Linked DNA regions of Homo sapiens: all the other regions are linked to region 3. The links are contacts of gene promoters, found by promoter capture Hi-C in human tissues and cell types (Jung and others, 2019). All regions are on one chromosome and are shown on one strand. Each heading gives the region's core, a stretch centred on a gene start or on the middle of the fragment in contact. The rest is flanking DNA. Distances are from core to core; before and after follow the strand shown. Region 1 has its middle 52 kb from the start of FOXB2. Region 2 has its middle 35 kb from the start of FOXB2. Region 3 holds the start of FOXB2 (forkhead box B2).

What was found. Contacts are between HindIII fragments. The study calls those that stand out against the background at their distance.
Region 1: a fragment that was not itself captured here is called in contact with the fragment with the promoter of FOXB2 in region 3 in 5 of the 25 tissues and cell types used here (IMR-90 fibroblasts, adrenal gland, bladder and 2 more).
Region 2: a contact is called between a fragment that was not itself captured here and the fragment with the promoter of FOXB2 in region 3, in 5 of the 25 tissues and cell types used here (liver, mesenchymal stem cells, ovary and 2 more).

The regions. Positions count from the first base shown.
Region 1 is chr9:76,966,751-76,969,450 of GRCh38, reverse strand. No RefSeq gene overlaps it. Among named protein-coding and RNA genes, the nearest start is that of FOXB2, 52 kb to the left of the region's middle. The HindIII fragment of the contact is 3,894 bases long and covers 1-2,700 here.
Region 2 is chr9:76,983,049-76,985,748 of GRCh38, reverse strand. No RefSeq gene overlaps it. Among named protein-coding and RNA genes, the nearest start is that of FOXB2, 35 kb to the left of the region's middle. The HindIII fragment of the contact is 5,344 bases long and covers 1-2,700 here.
Region 3 is chr9:77,018,364-77,021,063 of GRCh38, reverse strand. FOXB2 (forkhead box B2) reads right to left here and starts at 1,409. Exons shown (of 1, transcript NM_001013735.1): 1 at 111-1,409. The coding sequence starts at 1,409. The coding sequence ends at 111. The HindIII fragment of the contact is 6,747 bases long and covers 1-2,700 here.

The sequences.
Region 1 (2,700 bases), core at 10-2,509, 51 kb after region 3:
TCTGCCCCATCCCAGGCTGTGGAAGCCTCCCTAGCACTCAGTATGAGCCCATGTGCCTTAGCTATTTATTAACACAGAACACACATTTTCCCCCAATGTACTGTCTTCACTTAATATATCCTAGAGATCACTCTATATCCAGATACTTCTCAGTACTTTTTATGACTGCACAGTATCTCATTGCACAGCTCTAACAAGTTGTTCAGTCATTACTTTTAATGGAAAGTTTGATGTTTTCAGTCATTTGTTATCATAATAGTGCTGCAATAAATAGCATTTCATATTTTTTCCAGTCAGTCTTTGAGATAGATACCTAGAGGTCAATCGCTTCATCAGAGAGTAAGTGAATTTGTAGTTTTGGAGGATTTGTGTGAGAGGAGGGAGAGAAGACATTCCAGGCAAGGGGAACAGAGTAAACAAAGGTATTGAGGTGGAGACACGCCAGTTTGTTCAGGGCATTAAGAGACAACTGGTCTGGTTAGTATGAGGTATACAGAGGGCAGGAAGCTGGGTGATGGCATCAATACCCATGATACTGATAGTTGCTGTGTGCAAGTGGGCTTGACTGCTAAGGCAACATCTTTGTACTTCTGTCCTGTTGGTACTAGGAAAACACTGCCTGATTTTGACAAAGAAAATGACATGCTCCAAATGACATTTTAGAGAGATGAATATTGCCAAGTTGTGCATGATAATTGGAGAACTGTCTTGAGCCATGGAAACTGACTAAGTGATTAATGGAATATTCCATTCATATGGATGTTCAGAGCTACTAATGGGACAAACAGAGAAAATGGTCCCAAATCTCTGAGGAATTCTTCCCCTCTGTAAGCTGTTCATGATCATGCTTCCTTCTCCTAGGAGCTTCTGGCACTTACGTGCACAATTTTTTCCTTCATGAGTGATTGTGTGTGACTTACGAAGGAAAAAAGAGCAATGTGTCATATGCTACCATAGGGAGAAATGTTACTCAGAGGTAATTGGAATACTAAGGCAGAATTCAATATAGTATATGGCTCTCATCGGTATGAAGAGAAGAAGAAATTCTTCCTGGAATTCGTCTTCTGTTAGGACTTCATTCATTAGGGTTAAAGTGATCTTTAACTTTTGAGGGGTTAAAGATGTGTATCGGCGATGACAAATGAGGGTGTGCTGTAGGAACAAATAGCCGTATGATCTCCTTGGAATAAAACATCAAAGCTTTTTTTTTTCCTCACACTACATGTCCATTTTGGATTGGCAGGAGGGACCGGCCGATTTGCAGAGCCTCAGGGGCCTGAGCTAATGGAGTTGCTGCCATTTTGACCATTGCCAACCATGATACCAGAGGGAAATGAAATGTGGTAAGCTTTGTCTCTTAAGGTTTCTGTCCAAAAGTGCCCAAAGTCACTCTCACATTTCAGTGCCCCAAGTCACATGGATGTATTTGCTTCTAGAGGTGGGACAGTGCCATCTGCTTATGGGCCAGGAAGAGAGAAAAGCAAAAGATGTGTGATCACCCTGAGGACTGGCAGAGAATTACTCTAATAATCTTATAAAAGCTGTGGACTCTCCCTCCCACAATATGCACAGATGTACACATTCCTGGTACAATTTCATTTTAATTTCAAGTGGTTCACAGGCGTCCTGAAGCCTATATACTGATTCTGTAAAGATCCAACTAAAGGATGAGAACTATACTTCCCAATTATATATTCGTTGCTAATTTCTCTACCAATATTTACCTGTGAGCTTTCTCACTCTCTTGCTCTCTTAAAAGCAATCTCAGTTCTTTTCACTTACTATGTGAAGTGCTATAAGGATCTAAACAGTATTAGATTCTGGGAATATATTCTAGAGCAGCATAATCTGGCACAGTAAGTGAAACTGTCACTTGACAATACTATCACTTCTTAGCAATGTGATTAGTCAAATTGTCAATGAGATTGGGGCAAATTACTTAACATCCTGCGTCTCAATTTTGTCTCCTCTAAAATAGAAATCATAAAACCTTCTTCACAGGGTTGTTGAACATTTAAAAGGATGGATATTTATGGGTTAGGACCAATATGTACTTTGTCACCTATAACTTTGCAAAGTTGGGTGGTATTGTGTAGGTATGGGCTGGAGAAAAGTGGTGATACCCGTGGTTCAAAGGGTTATTAGAAGAAGGTGATCTTGTGTAATACTACAAAAAGACATAGGCTGTGCCCCTCCTGTTCATTTATAGCCAAGTTGCAGAAGCAAACATATGAGACCATTGAAAATGGAAAGAAATCATAAGACTAGTATGGATCATTGCCAAGTGATTACTTCAGAAAATAAGTGCTTTAAATTCAGACCAGGAGGAGATTGCTATTAGCGGGAGGGATCACGGGAAGACTTTGTGGAAGAGGTGAGGTTTGAACTTGAAGGATTGAATTTGGGTTGGTGGTGTAGAGGTGGCAGCCATTTTGCTCAGAGGGAATGATGGAACAAAGCACAGAATTAAACGAGACGATGCATGTGAACGTATATGGGGTTGTTGAGCATCTAGGAAACGCCTCACAGGATAGTAACGACCAGGTTCAGGCCAGAAGTGGGGGAGTGGGTGCTTGGGGAGTGGGTGCTTAGGCACTGGGGCACTTGGAAGGGGTTTGGCATATGAGAAGATGAGATCCCACATGGGTAATAGGCTGGGGCTAGTCCTGGGCAATTCCGAAATTTCAGTCCAACTCAAGC
Region 2 (2,700 bases), core at 56-2,555, 35 kb after region 3:
CAAGGATGCCTGGAGCTGAACACAATGTCCCTGGAGACAGATGAGGCCGAGAGGATCTGATACATAAGTGTGTCTGATGCAATATCTTATCTTTTAACTAGTTCCTCTCTTGCTTGTAGCTACTATAAACTGGAAGTCAGCTCTGAAACCTTGATGAGATTCAGGTAGAATATTTTGGCCAGATAACTTTATAAATGTTATTGTGTACTTCATATTGCACCACATCAGGAGGCACAAAATGCCAGGTTGTTTCACTATTAATGATGCTAAGTTACTTGGTTTTGTTGTGACAAGTAGATCTCTGATTGTAAAGGCCCATTTTCCCCTTTGCAATTAGCAAGCAACTGGAGATATATGACACTGTCCTTTTCCCAGCAATCTTTTAACTAATGATTTTAACATTCATTGATTTAGTCATTTTCTGAATCAATTATTTCACTGGGGGTTGCAAACTTATTAGCCGACATTCTTCTCTGAAGAAGCTTTTCTAGATCACCTGGAGATTAACTACCATTGCTCTTAGGAAGCAGGGAAAATAGTTCTTTTGTTTTAATTTCCAATTTTCAGAGTAAGGAGTTGAAAGTTAAAATAATAGTCATAATCTTCCATGGTGCCAAATTAATTTTGTTTTGTTTTGCCTCCTTTGAGTATTGTATGTGGACTTATGCCTTTTCATTTATTCAATATTTAACAATTCATTATACTTATTGAGGCTACAATTTCCCCAAATTTGCCAAGTAGAAGCCCTGAAAACTGGTTGCTGTGTTTTACTGATATGCCCTTATCATTTCTTTAGTAAAGGCTTCCTTGCTTTCTGGCAAAACAAGATGTCTCATCTTGTCCTTTCCTTGCCCCAGACTTGGAATTCAACCTTTTACTGAGGATATTTGATTCCTTTTATTGGGGAATGGTATTTAGAAGCCAAGATCCAGATACTAGGTATGCTAATTGCTACCGGAGTTTTGGTACTTCTAGACTCTTTCAACGGTCAGAACTAGGAAATCTATTTTTAAAAATCATGAGTTCATCTGATCTCTCCCTGTGACGAAGTCCCCGGGGGAGGGGTGGCCACCCTGTCTGTGATTTAGCTAACATAGCCTTCCCAGCCTCCTGGCTCTAGAGAGTCTGGGCAGTCTGGATGAGGAGGGCTCCCCCCAGCACAGCACACCTGCTCTGCCAAGGGGCAGCCAGATTGCTTCTTTAAGTGGGTCCCTGACCCTGTTCCTCCTGACTGGGTGAGACCTCCTAACAGGGGTCTCCAGACACCTCCTGTAGGAACGTTCAGGCTGGCATCAGGTTGGTGCCCCCTGGGATGGAGCCCCCAGAGGAAGGAGCAGGCTGCCATCTTTGCTGTTTCGTAGCCTTCGCTGGTGATACGTCCAGGGAGGGACTGAGGTGACTCGGATCTGGAGTGGACCCCCAGCAAACCACAGCAGCCCTATGGAAGAGTGGCCTAACTGTTAAAGGAAAACAAACAAACAGAAAGCAATAACAACAACATCAACAACAAAGACCCCACAAAACCCCTATTCACAGTTCAGCAACCTCAAAGATCGAAGGGAGATAAGCCCACAAAGATGTCAAAGAATCAACGCAAAAACACTGAAGACTCAAAAAGCCAGAGTGCTGCTTCTTCTCCAAATGACCCAACACATCTCTAGCTAGGGCACAGAACTGGGCTGAGGCTGAGATGGCTGAATTAACAGAAGTAGGCTTTAGAAGGTGGGTAATAATGAACTTCACTGAGCTAAAGGATCATGTTCTAACTCAATGTAAAGAAGCTAAGAACCAGTACAGGAGCTGATAACCAGAATAGCCAATTTAGAGAGGAACAGAACTGACTTGATGGAGCTGAAAAACACAACACAAGAACTTCACAATGCAATCAGAAGCATCAATAGCAGAATAGACCAAGTGGAGGAAAGAATCTCAGAGCTTGAAGACTATCTTTCTGAAATAAGACAGGCAGACAAGAATAGAGGAAAAAGAATGAACAAAACCTCCAAGAAATATGGGATTATGTAAAAAGACCAAACCTATGACTGATTGGAATACCTGAAAGTGACAGGGAGAATGGAACCAAGTTGGAAAGCATACTTCAGGATATCATCCAGGAGAATTTTCCCAACCTAGCAAGACAGGCCAACATTCAAATTCAGGAAATCCAGAGAACCCCAGTAAGACACTCCATGAGAAGATCAATCCCAAGACACACAATCTTTAGATTCTCCAAGGTTGAAATGGAAGAAAAAATGTTAAGGGCAGCCAGAGAGAAAGGCCAGGTCACTACAAAGGCAAGCCCATCAGACTAACAGTGGGCATCTCAGCAGAAACTCTACAAGCCAGAGGAGATTGGGGGAAGACCAAATAAAAGATATTTGTACTACCATGTTCATCGCAGCGTTGTTTACAATAGCCAAGATACAGAAACGACACTATTCAACATTCTTAAAGAAAAGAATTTCCAACCCGGAATTTTATATCTGGCCAAATTAAGCTTCATAAGCTAAGGAGAAATAAGATCCTTTTCAGACAAGCAAATGCTGAGGGAATTTGACATCACCAGGCCTGCCTTGCAAGAGCTCCTGAAAAAGCACTAAATATGGAAAGGAAAAACCATTACCTGCCACCACAAAAACACACTGAAGTACAGAGACCAGCAGCACTATGAAGCAACCACATAAACAAGTCTGCAAAATA
Region 3 (2,700 bases), core at 160-2,659:
CGCCAGCTCTGCCCGGCCTGACCAGGGCGCCCTCTCCCCGTCGGGTGGTTTGGGCGGTTCCGGGCCCGGCGTCTCTCACCCCGCTGGTCTCCCCACGCCCGCCGGGTCCCCTAGGAGTGCACTAGCACCGAGTGCAAGGAGCCGCCCTTGCTTTCGGCCGAGGTAGGGGCTGTGGGCTCCAGCAGAGAGGCAACGGGCGAGGCCGCGGCCGCGGAGCACACGGTGGATGGCGCCGGAGGCTGCTGCGAAGCCGCGGGGACAGTGAGCCCCGGCTGCAGCGCGGACACGGGCGGCAGCGCAGGCGTGGGCTTGATGGGCACCGGCATGGCAGGCAGGCTCTGGCTTGCCGAGTGGCACAGGGACTTGACCGGGACCCCGAAGGCCCCATACTCCGGGCCTACAGGGACTCCGGCTGCGGCTGCGGCGGCCGCGGCGGCGGCCACCGAATCCATGACGCCAACGTGCGGCCACACGGAGCTGACGACGTTGCCAAGCTGGCCGGGCACGGGGTAGCCCAGGTGGTGCATGACGGACGCCAAGGGCAGCCCTCCAGCCTGCAGCACGCCCTTGTAGTCCCGGCCAATAATGTTCTCAATGGCAAAGGGGTGCTTGAAGCCTGACGTGGACGCCGCGGCCGCGGCGGCAGCGGCGGCGGCCGAGCCCAGCCCGTAGGGTGGGAACTGAGACAGGCGTCCCACGCTGCCCACCGCGGCTGCCGCGGCCGCCGCCGCCGCCGCCGCCACGGCCGCCGCCTCCTGCATCTTGCCGGGGTGAGACGGCTGCTGAGGCTGCGACTGCTGGGGCGGTTGCTGCGGGGGCTGTGACGGGAGGTGCGGAGGCGGCTGCGGAGCAGTAGGCGGTTGCTGATGGAAATAGTGTACCATGTGCGGCGGCGGCGGGGGCGGCGGCGGCGGCGGCTGGGGTGGGTGGTGGTGATGGTGGTGGTGTGCGGCAGCGTGGTGATGATGGTGGTGGTGGGGGTGGTGGTGGTGATGGGGGTGAAGGTGCCCTCCCGGACCGGCGCCCGGCGCGCTCTTGGTGCTTCCCGCGTGCAAGTGAGTATGGTCGGCGCGCAGCACCTTGAAGCGCTTGCGACGCCGCAGGAAGCTGCCGTTCTCGAACATGTCCCCGCAGTCGGGGTGCAGCGCCCAGAAGCTACCCTTGCCAGGCTGGTCGGGCCTCCGCGGAATCTTGATGAAGCAGTCGTTGAAGGAGAGGTTGTGGCGCAGGCTGTTCTGCCAGCGCTGTGTGTGCTCGCGGTAGTAGGGGAAGCGCTCCATGATGAACTTGTAGATGTCGCTCAGCGGCAGCATCTTCTCGGCCGAGTGCTGGATTGCCATGGCGGTCAGCGAGATGTAAGAGTAGGGCGGTTTTTGGTCGCTGTACGAGCTCTTCCCCGGCCGCGGCATCGCCCCCGGCTCCTCCACCGCCCTCCGGCCCGCACTGGACCACAGAATCTCTCCGCACTCCGTTCCTGGGGCCTGGCTGCCCCCACTAATTCCCACTCGGCCCCTCCAGTCCCGCCACTTTGCCCTCTCGCCCTCCAGGCCCTCTCTGCTTCTCTCTCCTGCCTTCTCCGAATTGCCTGGTGTCTCCGACCTTGGCCTTTCGGGCCTACTCAGCTCTCGGAAGCTGGCAACTTCTGGCCCCGACGGTTGCCGACTGGCGCGCACAGTCGCGGGCGGAGTGCACCAGGTTTACCGCCGCCTTCTCTGCGTCTTCCCCCGGGTGGCCAAAGACTGAGTGCTGGAGCTGGCTGCAGAGGAGAGTGGCAAGGGGCCGTGTTTCCTCCCGGCCTCTTTGCTTTTTCTAGGTCCGAGGGAAACCCAGACCAAGATGGCTGGGAGGAAGGTCTGGGCAGTAGAGACTCTGGCCCTTTAAATCTGAGTTTGCGCCTGCTGTCCTGGAGGCCAGTGACAGCAGGACTTCCAGTGCCCTGGACGCAGGCCCCTGGCCAGGCACTTAGCCAGACCGCGCTGGAGTTCTCCTTTTCCTGGAGTGAAAAATCAGGGTAAGGAGAGAGAAGATTGGCTTCTAGGGCGCCTCTCTTTTCTCCGAGGCTCGCAGCGTCGCCGGGGTTAGAAGAGACGCGCAGCCCTAGGCTGTCGCTGAGGAGAAAAAACTTTGGTGGTTTCTGAAGCGGCAGCGCCCGCAGGTTCTGCTGAGGAGTGTGGGGCGCAGGACTCTGGGAGCGAGCGGCGGGCTGGAGAGGGCGTCTGCGAATGCTGGGTGAGTGCTGGCCGGGGAGGCTCAGCCGTCCGCGCCGCAGCTGCCGCCTTTCTCCCGGGCTTGTCTTGAGGAGGAGAGGCGACGGCAGTGGCAGCGACGCGCTCTCCTGGCTGCGTTTTGTAATGGTCCCCGAGACGCCGAGACCCCCGCAGCTAGCGCTTCGAGACTATCACATGACCGAGGCTGAGGGACTCAGCCGCCGCCGCCGCGTCTGTAGCTGAAGAAGGGGCAAGAAGGCGCCGTGCCTCGCCCCCGCCCCCTTTTCCACCTCGTTTCGGGCGCTCTCCACCCATCGCGTTCACCACTCGCTCGGCAGCCCCCAGCCACCTCCCGGTGCGGCGGGTGGCGCAGGCTGTTCGCCGGGAGGGGGCACAGCTCCGGGTGCATTTCCCGCAGCTGCGCCCCACCCGGGCCACCAAGCACGGTGGAGGGGGAACAGGACACTGCCTTCTTGCTTCTCTTCTCTCTGGC